Regions from separate parts of the Homo sapiens genome. Here all the other regions are linked to region 3. The links are contacts of gene promoters, found by promoter capture Hi-C in blood cells and fetal thymus (Javierre and others, 2016). All regions are on one chromosome and are shown on one strand. The core of a region is centred on a gene start or on the middle of the fragment in contact, and the rest is flanking DNA. Distances in the headings are between cores, read along the strand shown.

Region 1 (3,615 bases), core at 915-3,414, 220 kb after region 3:
AATTTTATATAACTTTTACACATCACAAAATATTATTCTTCTTTTGATTTTTTGCTAAGCACTTAAAAATGTAAAAATCATTCTTTGCTGGTGGTTTCAACAAAGACAGGCAGTGGGCCAGATTTGGCCCACAGACCATAGTTTGCTGACCCCTGATTTATATCTACAAAAGACGGTAAGGACTTTTTTCCTCTCCTCATTTTCCAGATAAGGAAACTGAGGCTGTGAGAGGCAGTGGCTTGGTCCCATGCAGGAGGAAGGCGCCTTCTATCTAGGGATCGCTCAGTGTGTGAAGACCCTCTCAGGATCTTCGATGTAGTTGACTTGGAGATAGAAAGGTGGCGTAGCTTAGTAATTAACAGCCAGGTATCTGGGCATCACAGCCTGGGGTTGGATCCCAGCTCTGCTCGCTCCATGTGACCTTGGGCAAGTTACTTCTTTTCTCCAGAACCTCCTTTTCCTCATATGGAGAATGAGGGAGAGTGGGATAGAGGACAAAAGAATCCCTAGGATCGTCCAGCTGGGAGAATATTGATTAATCTGTGACTCTGTGATTTGCAGCCCTCAATCCTCTGTCTTTAGGGTCTTGCTGTGCTTAAGGATTCTTGGTCACAAGGCTGCCACCTCCGATGGCAGGACTCAGGGCCTGGCCTCCCTGCCTGCCCAACAGATGTCAGTTCTCCAGGGCCCCCTCTGCCCACAAGTCTTTGCCCTGTACAGCCTCTCTCTGGGCTTTGCAGGGAGGCTGAGCTCAGCAGGCGCCCACCTAGGCAGGAGGCCGAGAAGATAAGGCCAGCCAAGACCTGGCTGCTGATACCTGGCGTGAAATTGAAAAGCACCAGACTCCTGCCTCCACAGCCTGGTGCCCTGAGGGAGAGAAGGCTGGGAATGGTGAATGAAACTGACCCGCCCAGCCAGCAGGGCCAGGCTCCAGGCTGCCACACTTCAGCTCTCCCCACCCCTTCCCCTGGGGGAGGCACAGGCTGAGCGGGTTCTTCGAGGCTCTGAACAGCAAGCCCCTTTCCAGGGTGGCAGCGTGCAGGGGGCTTCTGTGAGCCTAGGGGCTTTAGTGGGCCCCTGGTTTTGAAGTGGGGGACAACCACCAAAAAGGGGAATTGGATGGGAGTGCCCTTGCCTTGTGGAATTAGGCCTGTCCAGAGGCCAGCGTTGCAGTGCTCTAAGGTCATTGTAATGCAAGGCTAGCAAGTCCAGAACTTCTCAGAACAGCCCGAATGCACAGACTTATGAGACGCTGTTCCTCCAGGGCCCCATTCAGCAGGTGTGGACACCAAGGCCCGGAGAGCTGAGCACCCGGCCCCACCCAGGAGTACAGGGAGTTGGGTGGGGACCCAAGTGTCTGATTTCTGGAGCAGGGCTTTCACTTCTGCAGCCCAGTATGGTCCAGAACTTGTCACCCTCATCCTCAGGCCTGTTGTCCCCGAGGACCTCCATTATCCAGAGAGCACTGGAAGAAACCTTGCTGTAGTAGACCTGAGGATGGGGACAGCTCCCCTCTCTCCTTACCCTCACTGTCAAAGCACCCACAGATCAGATGTCTGATGGTAATGACCTCTCCAGGGTCTGGCCCACAGCATGTTTATTAGGGTCCATATGCAGCCGATGCTGTCCATGCCGGGTGAATACATGCCAAGTGATTTCCTGTTCACCCAGTTCCGCATAGATGATTCTGGTTATAACAGTGCAAGCTAAGAGGGAGGAAGTCAACCATTTTTTTTCCATCAGCAATCTGAATTTTACAAGTCCTCATGCTTCTCCTAGCCACTCTAGCAAGGGAAAAGGTTCTTTCCATTTGACAGATGGGAAACTGAGGCCCAGATGGGCACTGTGATTACCTTCAGGCTCTATAGAGTTCAGGGGCCAGGGTGGAGCTGAACCTCCCAGCACCCTCTTACCAGCCACCCCACCCCATGTGGGGATGTGGAGGATCCCAGGGCTGCTGGGACCTGTTGCTTCACAGTGACTTGGTTCTCCCAAAGCTGCTAAGTACTGTAGAGCAGAATGAAGTGCAGCAGACGGATCCTTGGGCCTCTTAGAGAGTGCCCCAATTTGTAAAACAAAGCTTGAGAAGGAGAAAAAAAAAAGATGGAAAAAAGCAAATTGGAAGCAAGAGCAGGCTGTATTTTCCATCCCTTCAACCATCAGCTGCTTTAAAGGGCCAGCCTCGTCCTCGTGGGGCAGGATAGGATAAGGAGGCAGGCCTGAGCTTTTAATCAGAGTTATGTTAGATAAAGCTTTTATTATTCACCTGGCTTTATTATAGCTCTTTCCTGAGGTTAGAAGCTAATTTTCCTGGTTTTTACCGAACTCTGGTCTGCTTGGCTGCCACAGATGCAGGAGAGGTGGACGGGAGTAGCGGAAAAAAGGGAGATGGGGGTAGAAATCAAATCAAATAAACTCTCCTCATCCAGTGGACCGAGAGAGTGGGCGGAAAACAACTCTAATAACAGGGGAAGTTTCCAGAGGTGGAAGCAGGCTGGTGAAATCAGGCCTAATCAGCTCTAGCAGAAGGGGTTCCAATCACCCCCAGCCTCACCAGGGGGAGGGCAGAGTGGACGAAGCTGGCGATGGGAGTAGGCTGGGGGCTGGACAGTGGCAGGCAAGGCAATCAGAGCCCTGCCAGCAGAGCCTGCCCCACGCCCGCTCCCACCCTCTGCCTTGTGTTCCAGCCACAGGAGTGGGAATGCTGGCAGAGGGTTAACCGGTTAGTGACCGGGATGGAAAAGAGGAGGAGCATACCTACACCAGGCCCGGGGCCACAGGCACGTTGCCCTGGGACACGCTGCACACCCCAAATACCCCTCCCACAATCAGGCATGAAGTAGAAGCCACCAATGCCACAGACAAGACCCACGAGGCAAAGAACTTTGGCCACAGCTATCTGGGGGAAGAAGATAGTGCTCCGTTTTCTAACTCTCCCCACCTTCAAAGGGAGTCGGATCATTTTCAGTTGACTTCTCCGCCAGTCAGGAGCCCATCGAATGATGTTCCAATTTCTTGACAGTTAGAGAGTCATTTTATGGCTAGATTTAGAGGTTGGAGGTGGTCTGTGGCTGGGGTCTGGTGTCTGTGACTGGTGCAGTGTGTGCCCTGGGGTAACCCTGGGGACAGAGTCAGTCCCCGACCCCAACCCCTGGTGACAGTAGCAGGAGGGGAAAGCCACGTCCACCCTGTAAGTTACTGTCGAAGGAGGGATTCGCATCCACTAAACAGCCATTAGGCCAGAAGCACCAGATGCAATAGCTTGAAAGAGACAGCAGTGCTCACCCCAGCCTTTCCTGGGGGTTGATCATTTAATCTCTTTAGCTCCTGCTACAAGAGGGAAAGAAGACTGCAGAGAGGAGAGGTGATATTGAGACAGGCACCGTGCTCCCAGGCCACGGCAGGGGAGGGGGAGGACAGAGCAGCTGTCCCTGCCAGAGAGGTCAGTGGCCTTCGGAGAAACCCATTAGACCGTTCTCATCCACCGTGCGTTTCATTAAAAGTGAGACAGTTTGCACCTTCCACTTTCTCGGGCTGTCTTCAGGTTGTCGTCATCAATGAGCCTGCCCTGTGTCCCCTGCAGGGGCTGATTTCTGTTTGCTCCATAAGGAGACC
Region 2 (3,931 bases), core at 70-2,569, 240 kb after region 3:
GGAGGGGCCCTGAGCCCACTCTCCACCCTTTTCTCTGGAATCCTGAGGTCTGGGCACAGAAAGGTGACCCGACTTTGAATCCTGATTCCACCACTTACAATCTGTGCGACCTTGGACAAGTGGCTTCATTTCTCTGACCTTCCATTTTCCCCATCTGGGAAAAGGAAGCAGGGAGCGGAGGTGTATAAAAATGCAACTGAGGGCAGAGGATGGGAGGGCAGAATCCCACTAGCCCCTCTCCTCTCCCCACCCCAGCCCCAGCAGACAGCTGCCCAGCCTCTGAGTAGCACAGGAGGCTGTTACCAGCTCTGATCCACCGAGAAGCCTGCACCTTGTCAGGACTCCATCTGTCAGGAATTTATTACTAATGCATTTTATAACAGGCTCTGTAATAAGATATTAAAGACTGTAGCAGCATCTAGCAAGCATTCCATAAATATTAATAACACCTTTAGAGATGGCACCTATGGTGGAAATGGTAGGGCTTTTTGCCAAAGTTTGGTCAAGGGTACAGCATAAATCTTGAAGGGGGTGAAGGGAGCAGGTGCACCCTAAAGGTGAGAGGGTGTGGCGTCCTTCTTTTCTCTCTCTCTCCTATCTTCCTTTCTCTTGCTGCTTAATTTTTGTATGTCTTTTCCTCTGTTCATAAGTTTTCCTCTAGAATGTCTCTTTTTTTTCCTGTTTCAGTTAGTTCCTTTCTCCCCAAGTTTCCTTTCCTCCCTTTTCTCTCGCAAATTATCTTTCCACTTTATCCCGTTTTCACTCTGGCCCTCAGTCCTGCCCCTCTCACTGTTCTCACCGCATTTTCCTCTGTGTTCCTGTGCTCTTCCTTCTCCTTGCCCCTCCTCCCTGCCCCCCTTTCTTTACTGCTCTCTCTGTCTGGTTCCTCCTTCCTGCCTCTCTGCCCCACTCCCTCTGGCCTTTTCTCCCTTGCTGCACACCCTCCCTCACCCTGTTCCAGTGAGCAACCTAGCCACCTCTGGAGAGGCCTGGAGTGTAATGTAACTCACACTGCATGTGAGAAGTGAGCTATTTATCATTATTATTAACAAACAAGATCCTTTGCACGGCAGAACTTTCCCAGAGTCTATTCCCTTGTCACCCCAGGAGTAGCAAAAAGATTTATTTGTCTCTGAATTGCACAGGGTGGCCCATTTACAGCAGGTCCATCAGAAGTGATATGGAGCTTAAATGGGAACTGGAAGAGGCAAGACCTGCCGTGGGTTACTTGGCGAGAGAGACAACCTGGCAGGTGCAAGAATTTTGAAGGGGATAATGCCTAGACATGCTCCCTGGTCCCCTGAAGGCATGGGTGTACATTTGGGGAGACTTCCTTTGAAATGGCCCAGAAGCCATAAGGGAGTAGGTGGGACTGGGCAGGGGGGTACCATGAAGGAGGGGAGGAGGGAAGCAGGGGTGGGGCAGAGAAGTGGGTCAAGAGGCCTCCCTCAGAAGCAGAAGTGATCATGCCCCATGGGGTCTTTCTTCCAAAGACCACGGCTGCTCCTTTCCAGCAAGAAGCTGGACCCAGGGCGAGTGTCCACAATGGAGGTGTTGGAAGAAGCTACCCTGGAAAGGAGGAGCCCAACCCCCAGCTGCAACAGGCCTCTTGGTGCTGCTTCTACAACTCCAACCCGTGCAGCCCCAACCCCAGACACTCCAAGCCCCACCCCAGACGCCCCGAACCCCACCCCAGACACCAGAGCGACATCTTCCACTCATTCTCCTTGTCCTCAGATGGCAAAGTCTGGCCCTGCCGAGCATCTCTCTTCAAGGCCTGTCCTGGCTGACTGTGTGAAGTCCATGATCAAGCCATCCCTTGCCCGTCCGGCCACCTCCCCATGCGCATGCTGATAATTGCCTGCAACCTGGATTTGCACGTTAATAGGAGTGTCTGGAGACGGTTAAAAAGAAGAGGGAGCTGGCATTTACCCAGGCTCCTTGATTCTTCTCCCCATTGTAACTTCCAGCCTCGGGTGGCGGGCACTGTGCCCTCATTAGCAGTCCAGGAGTGGTGGCCTGGCACTTTGCTTGCTGTGGGCGCTAAAGAGGTAGAGTCCCATCAGCAGAGGGTCTGGGTGAGCCTGGGGCAGAGCCATGGAAATGAGGAGGCCCTGCCCATGGCTGGGCATGTTCTGGGGGGCAGGAGCAAGGAGCTGAGACCCATGCAGGCCAGCGTGAGCAAGTGGGGTGCCCATAGAAAGGACGGCACAGGCAGGTCCCAGCACCGCAGCCATGGGCAGGAGACAAAGTCAGCGGGGCCTGGGACAGCCAGGGTGGGAGGCTCTTGGAGGCCCTCATCTCCATTTTTTCTCCTGCACTGTGCTCTGCTCCGCTCACTGCAGGTGGGCTTCCTCTGACTGCCTGTGGCATCTCTGCCACCCTGTAACTGTGGCTTTTGTGTGGCTCTCGGCCTGTCATGGTGCCCACTCCAGCCAGATAACAAGATCTTTCTTTCAGATTCTCAGAGAAAATTGATTTAATTTCTCAGGCCCCACCTGATTGGCATGGCCTGGGTCTGAAGTCACTTGGAACAAACATGAGTGCCTAGACCCATCACCTAGAGCAGAGCTGTGGTCATGAGGAGCAGCTGTTCTTGGAAGGAGGGTGGGTGGGGAGGCAGCTGTTGGTATCTCTTTGGGTGGGGTGGAAAGAGCACTCCGTATGAGTCAAGGCACCCGATTTCCACTCTTCGACTCTGTCATGATCCACTTGTGAGGCCTGGAGCAAGGCACATCCCCTCTCTGGGCTCATTTTCACATCTGTAGTCCACCCTAGGAAATGGGGAGGCTGGACTAGATGACCCCAAGGTTCCTTCCAGCTCCTGCATTCCAGCCATCCAGGGTGGTGTATGGTCAGGACTGGCTTCCTCGTTTAGGAGCCTCCCAGGCCCCCAGGTGCCCCCCTCACCCCTGCCTCAGATCCCACCCCTCCCCTCACAGGCTCTCAAGCCCATTGTGGAAGGTCTTCTGGGGCTCTTCCATCCTCATCTTGTCTTCAGCAGCCAGGATCCAATCAGCAGAGATGTTCTCTTTCTGAATTTTAAGGTGCCCATTTGTCCCAAGTTCATGGTGAAGAGATTCATTAACTGTTTACACTATTTCTAATACTTCCCCCTTTATGTGGGGCTCATCTCACCCTGCCTGTAATGATATTTTATTACTATAGTAATAAGTGCAATAACCATTTATCGAGTGTTGCTCAGTGTTGCTGTGTGTCTGGCCCAAGGAGACTCTCTTTTTTTCACACCTTATCTCTTATAATACTTTTTTTTTCTTTTTTCTTTTTTTTTTTTTCTTTTTTGAGACGGAGTCTTGCTCTGTCACCCAGGCTGGAGTGCAGTGGCATGATCTTGGCTCACTGCTACCTCCGCCTCCTGGGTTCAAGCCGTTCTCCTGCCTCAGCCTCCCCAGTAGCTGGGATTACAGGCACGCACCACCACGCCCAGCTAATTTTTGTATTTTTAGTAGAGACGGGGTTTCACCATGTTGGCCAGCCTAGTCTTGAACTCCTGGGTAGGAGCTGCTAACAGCTCCATTTTACAGATGAGGAAACTGAGGCCAAAAAGAGGTTTAACAGCATATGTCTGCAATCTCCCAGGGGAAAGTTCCAGACTCAAAGTTAGGGAGTCTAACTCAGAATTCATGCTCTGAGCCACCAAGTGTTACTCCCTGTAGCCTACCTGGAAACCCAGATGCACCTGGCCCCATAAAGCAAATCTGCTTGCATTGAGTCTGCAGATCTGTGTGCATGTCTGTGCATTTCCATGGAACAGCAGCTGGGTGTTCAGACAAGCCCCCAGTGTATGTGCTGATGAGCGCCCCTCCTTCCCCGCATCTACTTCCCTGATAGAGCATGGTGCCCAGGACCTGAAATGCAGGAAGTCAGCATTCTTTTCTCTCCAATAGTTTGTCCCTTCTAAGTATATGAA
Region 3 (3,812 bases), core at 201-2,700:
CATTATCCCTCAGCTTGTAAGCCTGGAGCTAAGCCCCTTCCTCTCCTGGGCCGGGGGGCTTTCTGACAATTTAGGGTGCTAGTCTCCAAACTCGCCTGCTGGTGGAGCTTGTTAAATAGATCCATTCTGGATCCCCATTCTGCACCCCCTGAGTGATGGGTTGTATTAATCCAGGTATTTATTGAACACAAATTATGTGCCCACGATGAGGGAAGAGCAAACAAAGCAGATACAGCACCACCCTCAGGGATTGGGGAGTGGCAGCAACCCTCCTGGGGAGAGGTCCCCAGAATCTGGATGTGTACTCGAGACTTTTATGATCAGGCCAGTGTTTGGGGAATGGTGGTTATAAAATGAGAGGCTGGGGCAGGGAGTGGGGATGTTCTGAGAACCTGTCCACACACTGACAGCCTCAATGGGTTCTGTGGCACCCCTGAGCCCTGGGATGGCAACTGCAAGAATTTACTATCCATGGTCACAGATCTTCAGGCCCTGTGAAGCATCCAGATCCCCGCTCTGAATAGGCCAACTGGGCCAGGACCGGGAGTCAGGAAGGTTTCCGCCTTTTTTTTTTTTTTTTTTTTTTTGAGATGGAGTCTTGCTCTGTCGCCCAGGCTCCAGGCTGGAGTGCAGTGGCACCATCTCGGTTCACTGAAATCTCCGCCTCCCGGGTTCAAGCGATTCTCCTGCCTCAGCCTCCCACATAGCTGGGATCACTGGCACGCACCACCATGCCCGGCTACTTTTGTATTTTCAGTAGAGACGAGGTTTCGCCATGTTGGCCAGGCTGGTCTCAAACTCCCGACCTCAGGTGATCCGCCTGCTTCGGCCTCCCAAAGTGCTGGGATTACAGGCGTGAGCCACCGCGCCCGGCCCCTGCTTTCTTAAAGAACACGCGGCAGCTGTGTGTTACACGCTATGGCTGAGGTCAAGTGTGAGGGCTGGAATTGCTGACTGCCATGTTCTGGGTCTACTGAAAATAGCTGCCTGGCCTGGGAGGCCCAGTTCAGTCCGGGTGTGGGTCCCGCTTCACCTCCAGAGCAGCGGCAGCCGGTAAGGGTAGAAGCGGCCTTTGGAGAGGGGTCTCTGCAGCGGCCTGGGGACAAGATGAGGGCTCCTTTGAGTCCTGGGGTGCAGGTTATAGTAGCTAAAGGGGAGGTCTGAGACAGTGGGGTCTGGCTCCAAGGTAAAGAAGGAGCAGCAACCAAAAGGCCTGATGCGCAGCGCACCCATCGCAAGCATGGGCAGTGCGTTTAAGACTGGGTGACTCACTTTTTCTCCTATAAAATGGGCGCACGCAGGCCCCAGCTCAGCGCCAGAAGGGGGAGCCCCGGCGCGCCGGCAGAAGACAAAGGAAAAAAGCGTGTTTGCAAACGGGGAAGCGGCGGCGTGCTGCCGCGAGGGGCGGGGCGGGGCCGGGGGAGGAGCCCGCCTGCCGCCTGCCAAGCCCAGTGGTCCTGGCCGTGCGCCGGAGGCAGCGGCGGCGTGGCGCAGCGGCGACAGTAAGTGCGGGCCGGCTCGGGCTCTTCCGGCTACGGTCCCGGCCGCCCCCAGACTCGCGCTCAGCGACCTCCCTCCCGGGCCCTGGGGGCGGCTGCGGGCTGCCAGGGGAGCCGCAGGACCCTACCCCATCCGTGGTCCCTTCCCCACCGTCCCTCCTCTCTCTCCTTGCTCTCTGCCACCCCTCTTTCTGGGTCTCTATCTTCTCTTCCCCAAATCCTCTCCCCTCCTCCTCCCTGAGACTGGACCTCACCGCCTGTATGGTGGGGGCCTGGTATGGACCCGTCGGCCCGAAGTATCCAGACGGTGGCTGATTCTCTCGGTCCCAGCTGCGGGGCCTGAGGCTGGGGCTGTTTACACCGCAAAGCCGGTTCTGCCGCGGCCAGTAGGCGGTGCCCTGCGCTTCCCAGTGCCTTCCCACAGGTTAGCCCTACCAGCTCCCCACCCCGGTTCACAGCCCAGGAGATCGAGGCACAGAGGGGCGAGCCACCTAGCCAGAGTCAGGAACCTCCTTGGAACCAGCACCCAGGCTTCCCAGCCCAGATGAGGTTTTGCCGCGGCCCCAGCAGTGCCTGCCTCCTTGTGTGGGGCTGTCTGTCTGTGCATGGCCGGGCTCCCGCAGGTGACCCAGGAGCACGTTCCAGGCCACAGCCAGCTTGTTTTGGGGAAGGTTGGGCACTTCCTTGCCTGCCTTTCTCTTTATTTTTTAATCCAGAAGCCAGCAGCTAGCTTTTATAAAGACTAATAAGACTTTGCTCACTCCAGTGCCCTGGCCTGTGACCCTGGTTAGAGAAAATTCCTGGCTCCTTCTTCAGAAGCTCAGTCAAGCCTTGACAAATAGACGCTAGGAACTGAGAAGGGGGCCCTAGCCAGGTGTGGTCCTGAGTGACAGGGCTGGTGGACCTTCTAGCCGCCCCCACAGGTAGCTGGAGCCTCTGGAAAGAACCACTTGCCGGTTCTCTCTTGTTCTATGTGGGTGGGTCATGATTATTTTTTACATTTTAAACACTAATTTTTAAAATGTAACAAGTGAGCTTGTTACATTTGTACCATTTTGTGCCAGACAAAATAGCATAGACTGGGTGGCTTAAACAAAATTTGTTTCTCATGGATCTGGAGGCTGGGAAGGGCAAGATCAAGGTGCTGGTTGATTTGGTTTCTGATGAGGGCTCTCTTCCTGGCTTGCAGACAGCCTCCTTCTTGCTGTGCCTTCACATGGCTTTTCCTCTATGAGTGGGTGCATGTGGAAAAAGCGATTTTCCACACAGTGAGCTTCCAGACAGTGAGCTTGTTAATGCTGGCCTCCATGCGAATCCAGGCTGGGGAGGGGCTCTGCTAACCAGGGGAGTTTAAAATAGACTTGCTGGCTGGATGCATTGCACTTGGGCATCCAGTGGCCCCCCACCTGCTGGCTCCAGGGTACATGCTACCCCAGCAGGGGAGAATGTCCTGGTCGTGCAGAGTCCGTTCATTCAGCAAACATTGACAAGGGTGCCTGCAGTGTGCCTGGGCCCCTCCCGACTCACTGGCTTCAAGGCTTGCAGGAAGGATGCCTGTACTTGGAACCAGCAGACACAGATTCCCATTCCCAGCCAGTCCTCCCCGGTGTGCTGAGGAGTCCAGCATGGGCCCCAGTCTGCTTGGCTGTGTAACTTCACTCTTGTCATCTACTAGTTATGTGACCCTGGGCAAGTTACTCAACCTTTCTGAGCCTCAGACCCCTCTGTGAAATGGGTCTTAGAGTAGTACCTAATATATTAGGCTGTTGTCAGCCTCAAGTGTGACCTCTGTTAGGCACAGACCTTGGCATTTGTGATCACTGGACTTAAGTTTAGCTATTGGGAGTTCTTTCTATTTGTGGGACATAGCAAGTGCCTTCCAGACCTCAGTTTTTCCATCTGAAAAAAGGGGGCAATGTTTTCTGCCCTGCCTAATTCCAAGGGATGCTCTGAGGTTCTCCTGAAATAGTGGATAAGGTTCTGCACCCATGTGAGGAGGTGTTCCCATCCCACCAGGGAATAAAGGCCCCAGTCTTCTTGGTACGATGCTTTGAGTTAGGCTTAGCCTCCTATAGAAACCAAGATGCATTTATTTATTAGTTTATTGGGTGGGGAAGAGGCTACTGCAGAAGGGACTCTGAAGTGTCCCATCCTCAGCATTTTGGAGACATTTCTCATTTATCAAGCTGCTGCCACATCCTAGGTGCTATGTAGAGCAAAGAAGCAGGCATGCTACCTTACAGCCAAATTCAGCAGCCAGCCAGCCAGCCATGCGACAGGCCCAGGATGCCAGGGAGATGCTGACATTTGTTC

The links. Contacts are between HindIII fragments. The CHiCAGO score rates a contact against its expected background, and 5 or more counts as called.
Region 1: a contact is called between a fragment that was not itself captured here and the fragment with the promoter of SLC29A3 in region 3, in 1 of 17 cell types (naive B cells). The highest score is 6.5, in naive B cells.
Region 2: a contact is called between a fragment that was not itself captured here and the fragment with the promoter of SLC29A3 in region 3, in 15 of 17 cell types (megakaryocytes, naive B cells, total CD4 T cells and 12 more). The highest score is 9.6, in megakaryocytes.

Annotation. Positions count from the first base shown.
Region 1 is chr10:71,541,859-71,545,473 of GRCh38, forward strand. All of the region lies in intron 6 of CDH23 (cadherin related 23), which reads left to right. Among named protein-coding and RNA genes, the nearest start is that of CDH23-AS1, 32 kb to the left of the region's middle. RefSeq lists enhancers at 322-901, 2,153-2,662. The HindIII fragment of the contact is 172 bases long and covers 2,079-2,250 here.
Region 2 is chr10:71,560,464-71,564,394 of GRCh38, forward strand. The region is part of intron 6 of CDH23 (cadherin related 23); the gene reads left to right. Among named protein-coding and RNA genes, the nearest start is that of CDH23-AS1, 51 kb to the left of the region's middle. RefSeq lists enhancers at 1,605-2,128, 2,129-2,652. The HindIII fragment of the contact is 6,224 bases long and covers 1-3,931 here.
Region 3 is chr10:71,317,809-71,321,620 of GRCh38, forward strand. SLC29A3 (solute carrier family 29 member 3) reads left to right here and starts at 1,451. Exons shown (of 6, transcript NM_018344.6): 1 at 1,451-1,502. The coding sequence starts at 1,502. LOC124902445 (a long non-coding RNA gene) reads right to left here and starts at 1,855. Exons shown (of 2, transcript XR_007062183.1): 1 at 1,754-1,855; 2 at 161-1,096. RefSeq lists a silencer at 1,248-1,697. The HindIII fragment of the contact is 7,819 bases long and covers 1-3,812 here.